Linked DNA regions of Homo sapiens: regions 2 and 3 are each linked to region 1. The links are contacts of gene promoters, found by promoter capture Hi-C in blood cells and fetal thymus (Javierre and others, 2016). All regions are on one chromosome and are shown on one strand. Each heading gives the region's core, a stretch centred on a gene start or on the middle of the fragment in contact. The rest is flanking DNA. Distances are from core to core; before and after follow the strand shown. Region 1 holds the start of FHIP1B (FHF complex subunit HOOK interacting protein 1B). Region 2 has its middle 11 kb from the start of OR2AG2. Region 3 overlaps TRIM6 (tripartite motif containing 6).

The links. The method cuts DNA at HindIII sites, captures the fragments that hold promoters and counts their contacts. A CHiCAGO score of 5 or more calls a contact.
Region 2: a fragment that was not itself captured here is called in contact with the fragment with the promoter of FHIP1B in region 1 in 2 of 17 cell types (activated CD4 T cells and naive CD8 T cells); the score reaches 6.6 in activated CD4 T cells.
Region 3: a fragment that was not itself captured here is called in contact with the fragment with the promoter of FHIP1B in region 1 in 1 of 17 cell types (neutrophils); the score reaches 5.3 in neutrophils.

The regions. Positions count from the first base shown.
Region 1 is chr11:6,232,178-6,235,885 of GRCh38, reverse strand. It overlaps FHIP1B (FHF complex subunit HOOK interacting protein 1B), which reads left to right and starts at 1,250. Exons shown (of 12, transcript NM_001098794.2): 1 at 1,250-1,342. It also overlaps a transcript of CNGA4 not described here. RefSeq lists enhancers at 836-915, 313-1,003 and silencers at 1,046-1,345, 1,526-1,575. The HindIII fragment of the contact is 4,704 bases long and covers 1-3,673 here.
Region 2 is chr11:6,758,802-6,762,604 of GRCh38, reverse strand. No RefSeq gene overlaps it. Among named protein-coding and RNA genes, the nearest start is that of OR2AG2, 11 kb to the left of the region's middle. The HindIII fragment of the contact is 3,754 bases long and covers 646-3,803 here.
Region 3 is chr11:5,596,954-5,600,368 of GRCh38, reverse strand. The region is part of intron 1 of TRIM6 (tripartite motif containing 6); the gene reads right to left. All of the region lies in intron 1 of TRIM6-TRIM34 (TRIM6-TRIM34 readthrough), which reads right to left. It also overlaps a transcript of TRIM5 not described here. Among named protein-coding and RNA genes, the nearest start is that of TRIM6-TRIM34, 2.0 kb to the right of the region's middle. RefSeq lists enhancers at 1-10, 3,044-3,415. The HindIII fragment of the contact is 1,010 bases long and covers 1,606-2,615 here.

The DNA.
Region 1 (3,708 bases), core at 1-2,500:
CTAACTGCAACCTCCGCCTCCCGGGTTCAAGCGATTCTCCTGCCCCAGCCTCCCAAGCAGCTGGGATTACAGGCGCGCGCCACTACGCCCAGTTAATTTTTGTATTTGTAGTAGGGACGGGGTTTCACTATGTTGGTCAGGCTGGTCTCGAACTCTTGACCTCGTGATCCGCCCGCCTCGGCCTCTCAAAGTGCTGGGATTACAGGCGTGAGCCACCGCGCCCAGCCGGTAAAGTACTTTTAAAACTACATGCCTTATCTGAAACTTCTATTTTTCTATTTTAGTTTATCTTACTCTTGCTTGTTTCCCAAGACTCGGCTTAGACACCGTCACCTCCCGGAAGTCTTCCCTAAGCTCCTTCACCGTACCTTCCTCTCATCCTCTATACATGCAAATCATGCTAAGTGCTGCTCCTAGGTGGCCCCCGTAGTAATGTACTTATTACACTACGCTGCAATTCTCTGAGGTCCTGGAGAGCAGAGGCCGGTTCTAATTGATCCGGAATCCAGCTGGGCATGCAGGCACTTATTCCGTGTTCCTTGACTAAGTGCTCAAGGGGTGACGGAGCAGCACAGCACAGCGGTGTTGGGGGAGCCAGGGGCAGTCACCGCTGGGGTACTAAAGTAGAGACCAAGCTATGCACGACGATGGAGCAAAATGAACTAGAGTGCCCGCAGTCAGCCCTCTCTAGGGCTCCACTTTTCCGCAGGCCCGGCCCACCTACTGATTCCTCCTCTCTTTTCGTGATAGCCTCGCCCCTCCACACCCACTCTTCCACTCCAAGCGTCTCCTGGAATCCATGGCCCCACCCCTTTCTCGCTCGTCTTTCTTCCGGCTCCATCTCTCCCAAGCCCCGCCCTTCTGATCTTTCCCTGCCTGTAAAAATCGCCTCTCCTTAGGTCCCGCCTTCTGCCCTCTGGTTCCACCTTTCCTTCCCGGGCTCCGCCTCCGCCCTGCCGGCCTCCACCTTCCCAGAGGCCTTCGCCTATGACACGCCGGAGTCCTTCTGAGGGGCGGGGTTTACGTACGAAGGGACGGAACCAAGAGGAGAGGCGGTGCTCCTCCCTCGGATAGCCGTCGGCGACCCCGCCCTTGCGTTTAGCCGTTGCCAGGAAACAAGCGTCCTTGCTCGGGTTTGGTCCGGCTCAGCCAATGAGCTGGCACGCCATTGCCCAGTCGTGCGACGCCGGGCGGTTGCGTGTGGTGCGCGGGGGCGCGGGCTGCGTGTGGCGCGGGGCGGGGCGCGGCTGGTGCGCTTGAGAAGCGATGGCGGCGGCCTGAACTCACCTAACACCGCAGCAGCAACCGGGCCCGGCCAGGTTCGGCGTTCCGTGAGTGAACGGTACGCATGGGCCAGAGGGCCTGGAGAGTCGTTTGTGGGGATGAGAGACTGGGAAAAGACGGTGACGGGTTTGGTTACTGTACTGGTTGTGAGGGGTTGGCAGGTGGTGAGGGTCCGGGTGTGAGTGTCTAAGATAGGGAAGGAGGGTGAGAGCTTACAGGTGAGTGGACAAATGAGGGGCTGTGAGAGGCTGGGTGCTTTCGGAGGTGCCAAGTTGAAGGGACTCCTGAACGCGGTTTACTAGGGCTGGGGCTACTGAGGGCTGGTGTGAAGGATACCCTGGGACTAGAGTGAGGGGTAAGGCCTGCGCGAGGAGAGAGAGAGTAAAAGGCGCAGGTGGGAGCCTGCGGGGTGGCGGCAAATTGGTGAGGGAGTTGAAGGCGAGGCATGGGAGGAGGGAATTAGGGCTTGTGAGACTTGGATAAAGGTGAGAGGTTGGTTCTGAGGCCTCCTTCGATGGACTGCCCTGTCCAGTGAGAGCAATAGTTTTAGACAAAGTAGGGCAGCTTAGATGGAAGTGTTGTGCACCTGACTCCTCTGCTCCCATGGACTTTCCATATTCTGGAGGACGAGAAAATGAAGGTGTCATAGGCAATAGTACTATGGTAATGAAAGTCATATTTGAGGCTCAGACTTCAACAGAGTAATCACAGAAACTTCAGTTCCTTCGAGTTCCTTCTCTGGACTGCATAGTTGAAGATGGGCCCTCTCATGAAGGGTTTTGCGCTGTGACAGCTTGTGTTTTCTCTCTACTTGCTTCTGGACAACCTTATTCCACTGTTGCTCCTTACCTGTGCTTAACTGTGGGTCTTTGATTGGATTGACCATATTCAGTTGCTAATTCTACTTTTATGGAGGTCATATGGTTTGCCCTATACAGTACTATATTTAGGATCCCAAACAGGATGGCCTTACTCTCCTTTCTTACAGTTGAATTTTTTAAAAAGCTAGTTTATATTATATTTAAAATGTGTGTTTGATGAGTTTTGACATGTGTACACATCTGTGAAATCATCATCAGTCTCAAGATACTGAACATTTTAGCCACCTGAAAATTTATCTCTTCCTCTCCACACCCTGTAGTTGGGTTCATCTTACTAGCATTCTTTTAGGTCCTCTTCTCCCCACCAACCCAAATGCACGTGAAATTCTGGAAAGTTGGTTTGGCATTCAGTGATAATGGCCACTTTCACACTACTAAATTTTCCTCTCTACTGCTAGTCAGCCATGGGGTTGGGACATCCTATTCTTTCCAGACTCAGAAAGAGTTAAGTCTTTCCTTAACTCTACAGTGGACAGGGAGAGACCATTTCCTGAGAATTAGACAGCCTCAGTCCCCATTCTTTTCCAGAGTCTTAGCTTCAGAGCCAACTCCTATATCCTGTGGTATATTCTCATTGCTTCTTTCTGGAGTCCAGACAGGCCTCCATATTGGTAGAACACTTGGCAACTTGCCCAGTCAGTCAGAACTTACAGTTCAGAGTTTAGAGTAGTGGTTCCTAAACACTGGACCAAGGACCCTGTACATGATAAAATTATCATCTATCCAAGATGGAGGGAGAGAAAGACAGTATGGTTATTCATGAAGATAAATTTATTCTCAGAGATTATCATTCCTATTCTTTTGGTGTTGCAGTGCTCTTTCGTTGATGCAGTAATGGTAACAGTAGATGGTGGGTTAAAAAAAAAAAGATCTAATTTACCCAAATAAAAAGTGTCAACCCAATTTTTAATTTTAAAAATTATTTCTATAGCTTTATGAACTTCAGAAATTTAAAGTGATGATGGTGTGGCTGTTGTATTAGGTTGAGGAAGCATACATTTATACAATGATTCTGTATAACTTAACATCTGAACAGCATTCATGCTTTACATAGGGATTTCAAATTTTATTATACTGATTTATATAGATACCTTGTAGACAAAGACAGGAACTTTCATTTTATAGATGAGAAATTAAATTCAGTAGCCAGAGATCATACAGGGATACAGTGGCAAGGCTGAACCCAGAATTTTGTCTCAGAGTGAGAGAGACTTTGGGAAAGAAGATTTATAATAGACACTGAAGGTGATGTGGGAGGATTTTTTAATGATTTGTAATTGTTCTATTTCCAAAAGACAGAAAAGGGACTGTGAGAGTGACATAGGGATGAAGGTTATGTTTAATGCTGTCGCAGTGACATTGGAACAGGTATATATAATACCTGGATCACATCTTGATAGTGGATCATATCATGATAGTGATAGGATGAATCAAATCAAATATTAGATGGTTCTTAGGGACTGTCTAAATCCTTGTTATAATGGAGAAAGCACTGGATTTGGTAAGCTTATTGTTTGCTATCCCAAACTCTGTTGAAATAGTA
Region 2 (3,803 bases), core at 1,273-3,772, 530 kb before region 1:
GCAAGAGAGGGAGCGAGAGAGAGTAGGGGAGAGAAGGTACCACACACTTTTAAACAATCAGATCTTGTGAATAGTCACTATTGGGAGGACAGCACCAAGCCATGAGGGATCTACACCGATGTCCCAGTCACCTCCCACCAGGCTCCTCCTCCAGCACTGGGGATTACAATTCAATATGAGATTTAGAGGGGACAACATCCAAACTCTATCAGAAATCTAGGGGTTTTTACACACCAATTCTCATCAATTATCAATTAAGGCGGCTTGGTGTAGGGCACATTAGTATCTTAGGCCATTCTGATCTTCTGGGCAAGTGGGCATAACTGGCATGTTAGCCAAAGAAAGTTCTGTTGCAAAAGATGGCTGTCAGATGTCAGCATGCCCTGAAATGATAAGTTAAAAGAATATGTAGTGGGCATTGCCCTCATTTGCTACAGTGTAAAACAATAAAGTTTATAACAATGAATTTCCAGAAGTATATTCTTAAATTTACTAGAATGTTCAAAAAGAAAAAGAAATAATTGAATGATGAGTCTGGTGGAGCAGACTCATAATTATCATGAACTCATAATAATATGAGTATATGAATAATAATATGCTCTAGTGGAGCAGACTCATAAATATTATGGTACATTATTTTAAGCTTACACTCCTTGACTCAACTTCCCAAAAGTTCAGTTAGATTATTGTCTCTATACTAATGTCATACCATAGAAATATTACCTGAAATCTAAAAATAAAACAATATTTGCCATGTACCTCCACATTCTAAACTGAGGTGCTACACCATTAGGGAGGACGTACATGGAGGTGATCAAGAGATGGCATACAAGCGTTAAGCCTTCAACTTTTTTAGGGTATGAAAGAGAGAGACAGTTGGAGGTTGGTGGAGAGGAATATTTGAAGTTATCTCTCAGAGTATTCTTTTACCCCTCCCTCCATAAGGAAAGAAGGAACTAATCTTAAGTTTGTTGATGAGAGATTGAAAAGTACTACTGGAGAACTTCGTGTCTCTTATCTGGAATTTGGTGAGTGCTAGAACAAGTACCTTCCTCACACATGCCCAAAGTAATTTATAGATTCAATGCTATCTCCATCAAGCTCTCATTAACTTTGTTCACAGAACTGGAAAAAACTACTTTAAATTTCATATGGAACCAAAAAAGAGGCCGCATGGCCAAGAAAATCCTAAACAAAAAGAACAAAGCTGGAGGCATCATGCTACCTGACTTTAAACTATACTGCAAGGCTAAAGTAACAAAAACAGCATGGTACTGGTACCAAAACAGATATCTAGACCAATGGAACAGAGAGGCCTCAGAAATAACACCACATGTCTACAACCATCTGATCTTTGACAAATCTGACAAAAACAAGTAATGGGGAAAGGATTCCCTGTTTAATAAAAGGTGTTGGGAAAACTAGCCATATGCGGACAACTGAAACTGGACCCCTTCCTTACACTTTATACAAAAATTAATTCAAGATGGATTAAAGACTTAAATGTTAGACCTAAAACCATAAAAACCCTAGAAGAAAACCTAGGCAATACCATTCGGGACATAGGCATGGGCAAAGACTTCATGACTAAAACACAAAAAGCAATGGCAACAAAAGCCAAAATTGACAAATGGGATCTAATTAAACTAAAGAGTTACTGCACAGCAAAAGAAACTATCATCAGAGTGAACATGCAACCTACAGAATAGGAGAAAATTTTTGCAATCTATCCATCTGACAAAGGGCTAATATACAGAATCTACAAAGAACTTAAACAAATTTACAAGAAAAAAAACAACCCCATCAAAAAGTGGATGAAGGATATGAACAGACACTTCTCAAAAGAAGACATTTATGCAGCCAACAAACGTAGGAAAAAAAGCTCATCATCACTGGTCATTAGAGAAATGCAAATCAAAACCACAATGAGATACCATCTCACCCCAGTTAGAATGGTGATCATTAAAAAGCCAGGCAACAACAGATGCTGAAGAGGATGTGGAGAAATAGGGACAATTTTACACTGTTGGTGGGAGTGTAAATTAGTTCAATGATTGTGGAATACAATGTGATGAGTCCTCAAAGATCTAGAACCAGAAATACCATTTGACCCAGCAATCCCATTACTGAGTATATACTCAAAGGATTATAAATTATTCTACTGTATAGACACGTGCACATGTATGTTTATTGCAGCACTATTCACAATAGCAAAGACTTGAAACCAACCCAAATGCCCATCAGTGATAGGCTGGATTAAGAAAATGTGGCACATATGCACCATGGAATACCATGCAGCCATGAAAACGATGTCCTTTGCAGGGACATGGATGATGCTGGAAACCATCATTCTCAGCAAACTAAGAACAGAAAACCAAACACCGCATGTTCTTACTCATAAGTGGGAGTTGAACAATGAGAACACATGGACATAGGGAGGTATCACACACTGGGGCCTGTCATGGGTGGGGGACTGGGGGAGGGATAGCATTAGGAGAAATACCTAAGGTAGGTGACGGGTTGATGGGTGCAGCAAACCACCATGGCATGTATATACCTATGTAACAAAACTGCACGTTCTGCACTGTACCCTAGAACTTAAAGTATAATAAAAAAATTTTTTTAACTGGTTGGTATTCTCTACTGAAGTTGAAGATATGTATATGCCATAACCAAGCAATTCTACTTGTTGTATATGCCTGACAGAAATGTGTGTATATGTGCACCAAAAGACATGTGCAAAACTATTTATAGCAACACTGTTTAAAATACCCCAAAGCTGAAAACAACCCACATGTTTGTTCATCAGCATAAAGGATAAATAAACTGTGATCTAGTCATACAATGCATTATACAACAAAGAAAATGAACTACGAGGCCAGGCGCAGTGGCTCACACCTGTAATTCCAGCACTTTGGGAGGCTGAGGCAGGCAGATCACACAGTCAGGAGCTCGAGATCAGCCTGGCCAACATGGTAAAACCTGTCTCTACTGAAAAAATGCAAATATTAGCTGGGCGTGGTGGCAGACGCCTGTAATCCCAGCTCTCAGGAGACTGAGGCAGGAGAATCATTTGAACCTGGGAGGCAGAGCTTGCAGTGAGCCGAGATCGTGCCATTGCAATCTATACTACAATGCTATAAACTATACTACAAGGCTAAAGTAACAAAAACAGCATGGTACTGGTACCAAAACAGATATATAGACCAATGGAACAGAGAGGAACTACAGCCTGGGTGACAAGGCGAGACTCTCAAAAAAAAAGAAAGAAAAGAAAATGAACCACAATAGCTCCATATAGTAACATGGATAAATCTTACAAACGTAATATTGAGTGAAGGAAGGCAGGCACAAAACATACATATTGTATCATTTCAATTGCCTGTCTAAGAAACATAACTGATGTATGGTGTTAAACTGCTTTTGGGGAGTGAGTGAAGGTATAGTGATTAGAAGAGGGCATAAGGAAAGAATACTGGGGTGTTGGTAATGCTCTGTAACTTGACCTGAATAGTGGTTACTGGAGTGTGTATGCCTTGTGCCAGATTCATTGAGCTGTACATATACATTCTGAGCATTTTTTAGTATTTGTATAACTGTTATATTTTAGCTTAAAAAAGTTATTAAAAAAAGATTAGCCACGTGTTTTGTAGTCATTTGACTCACTGAGGGCTAGTCTCTCTTTGAGTATGCTATTGATAAATAAATGTCCCCCAAAGATGTTCACATTCCTACTCCCCAGAACCTGTACATGGTACCTTAGATGGCAAAAAGGACTTTGTAGATGTGATTAAATTACCAAT
Region 3 (3,415 bases), core at 861-3,360, 640 kb after region 1:
CTACAGAAAGCCCATTAGGTATTCAGCAAGAATTTAATTATTTTGTACATAATAACTCAATAATTCCACATAACAACATTATGAATGTCCCTTAAATCTCATCTCATAGTTGTATAAACTGGTATTTAGTAGATCTTTCAAGTGGCGGGGCCGGTGTTGAATGCAGATACGCAGGCTGCAGAGCTGGAGCTCTTATTACTCCCTTATATTCCTCATCTCCATAAAGGGTGCAAAATATAATTAACAAATTAATGAACTCTGTGCATCTAACTGGTAGTACTAATTGGTGTTACAGACGTATTTACCTATCATCTGAGAGTCTGTTTAACCAAATTAATCACACCTGTGGGAACTGCACTATTATTTCCTTTGTTAATATCTCCTACCATACCCACATCATCTCACTTAGCACACTGCACTATAAGGCTCTATTGCCTTTGATAATAGAGGCAATAGAGGCTCTAGAGGCAATAGAGGCTCTATTTATCTTCCAGGTGCCCCAGACCTTAGCACTGCAGCTAACACAGGAAATGATCAATTAACTTTATAATGGATTGAAAATTATAGCTTACTGCTGAGCTTATAGTTGGCCTTGATGTTGGCACTAGAGTATAGAAATAAATGTGCTATCTTATCAAAGTGTTACTGTTAAAAAATAATTGTGTTGGCCGGGCGCGGTGGCCCAAGCCTGTAATCCCAGCACTTTGGGAGGCTGAGGCAGGCGGATCACAAGGTCAGGAGATCGAGACCATCCTGGCTAACACGGTGAAACCCTGTCTCTACTAAAAATACAAAAATTTAGCTGGGTGTAGTGGCGGATGCCTGTAGTCCCAGCTACTCGGGAGGCTGAGGCAGGAGAATGGCGTGAACCCGGAAGGTGGAGCTTGCAGTGAGTCGAGATCGTGCCACTGCACTCCAGCCTGGGCGACAGAGCGAGACTCCGTCTCAAAATAAATAAATAAATAAATAAATAAATAAATAAATATAATAATTGTATTGGTATTATATTTTAATTGAAAGTCCAATTCCAATTCATCCTCCCCAACAAACACATGCACACTTTCATTTCAGGCAAAACTGTATTTAGCGTACCCAATTCTCTTGAAGGAGAACTACTGCCTCATAAATGCAATGTAGTAATAGTCCCAAACTGAAAAGAATCCATGACATCACTAACTGGTAAATGAACAAACTGTGGTGTATCCATACAGTGGCATATTACCAAACAATTAAACTGTTAATATATACAACAAGATAAATCTCAAAAGCATGCAAAGTGAAAGAACCCAAACATCAAATTTAAGTTATTGTATGATGCTATTTATGTGAAATCCTAGAAAAGAGAAAGCTATGGTATTTGAAAGTACATCAGTGGAAGCCAGGGCCCAGGAGTGGGAGAAAAGTTTGAACTGCAAAGGGCATAAGGAAATTTGAAGGGTGAATACATAAAGGGAAATGCCCTTTATGTATCATGATCATGGTGGTGGTTACACAGCTGACTGCAACTGTGAAAATTCACAGAACTGTATGCTTACAATTTGTAACTTACTAGATAGAACTCAATAAACTGACAGAAACAAAAAAATACAAGAAAAATTAAAAGCTTGGTTTCTGATCTTCTAAGCATAATGGAACTGTGTTGTCAAACATGTAGCCAGATATGGCTCTTGAGCATTTGAAGTGTGGCTACTCAGAAATGGGTTGCTTTAGGTACAAAATACACATTGGATTTTGAAGATTTAGTTTAAAAAAGTTAAAGGATCTTATTAATTTTTTTATGTTGATCACATGTCCTAATTGTATTTTGCATGTATTGGGTTAAATGAAATGTATTAAAATTAATTTCACCCGCTTATTTTTAATGAGGCTACTTGAGTATGTAACATTACATATGTGGCTTCATTCTATTTCTAGTTCATTATATGTCTTTTTCCTATCTAATATGCGCTGTAGATATTCATCTAATACTCTCTTTAGACAGAGAAAAATTCTTGAGCAGAAAAAAGATTTGTAAGAGTTGAGGTCTCTTGTCAAAGCTGAGGCTTGGGAAAGAAATTGTGAAGGAGGGGAGCATACAGTTAGCATAGGTGACCCTTGCCCACACACCAGCAAGCCCTGACTGCCCACTGCAGCTAAGTGCAGCCCAAGGGAGATATGGGAGGCTGCCAGTTTCCAACTGAGGCCAAGTCTCCAGAGCAGTGTGGACGGGCTGAGAGAAGGCATTCTGACTGTGAGGAGTGCAGACGAGAAGAGCCTGCAGTCCCAGAGCCCAGTGCATCAAATTAGCAGAAGAAAGAGCCCAAATTCACAACCAGGTGGGACCAATTAAATCAGAACCAGACGCCTGAAAAAGGTCTGCTAACTAGCAACACTGCAAGCACTTGGAGTTCTTTATGCAGAATCTCAGTCTTTCCTGGAATGATTCAGAATCTGCACTTTAATATTAAAGTTCTCTAGGTGATTCTTACGCACATTAAGGCTTCAGAAGCACTGCCTTAGATAAAGGACCTTCTTTCCCAGGTGGATACAATTTAGGGTGCAAAACAGCTAGAAGAGGGAGGGGGACAGAGAATGGCCTGCTATTTAGATACGAAGCATCTTTTAGAATGGAAGCTTGCATCGATATCAAAATGGCTTTCAGAATAAAAATCAGTGACTCAGCAGGGGATACTGGGGCTGGTGTAGGCTGGGGGTTCAGAGTTAGGAATGACAGAGCGGGCCCGTCCACCAGCTGGGAGCCCTAGTGAAAGTGGAATAAAATAGGTGGCAGTTGCATTTATAAGTGAGTTGGGCATGAGTTCTTGCACTTTAGGAATAACATTTTTTTTTATCTTTGTGTAGGGTTATATTTAACCTATTATCTGCAATTGATTATCTAACAGGACTCAATAAATATTTGAATTGGAACATAATCAGTTTCAAAACAAAAAATTTAATTTCCACTTCAAAAGAATTTCTACCCCCTGCATTTCAGAAACCTATAATTTAAAAATTGTTTTGATTGTGCATTTTTTTAAAGCTAGGCATGGAGTTTGCCAGTAATAATGACCATAATTTGTGTCAGGCAGCCTCCTACGTGTTTAAATCTGTCTCACTCAATCCTCACCAAAACTCTAAGATATACATATTACTCCGTCCATCTTATAGATGGAAGAAACTAAAGCTCAAAGAAGTCAAGTTAACAGTCTTCGGGCACACAGCCAGTGTCTGTCAGAGTCAGGATTTGAACACATGCAGTCTGGCTGCGGCATCTATGCTCCTAACCACACATTTCTGTCTCTATTGACTGACTGATTAAAATGTCTCTAACCTCAGTGGGGTCATTTGCAGTGAGAAAGAAAAAGAAATAAAGATATAATGAGTTCCGAAAGGGAAAGGACCTTATCTCTTTCACTGCCCTGTCACCTCTGCCAGA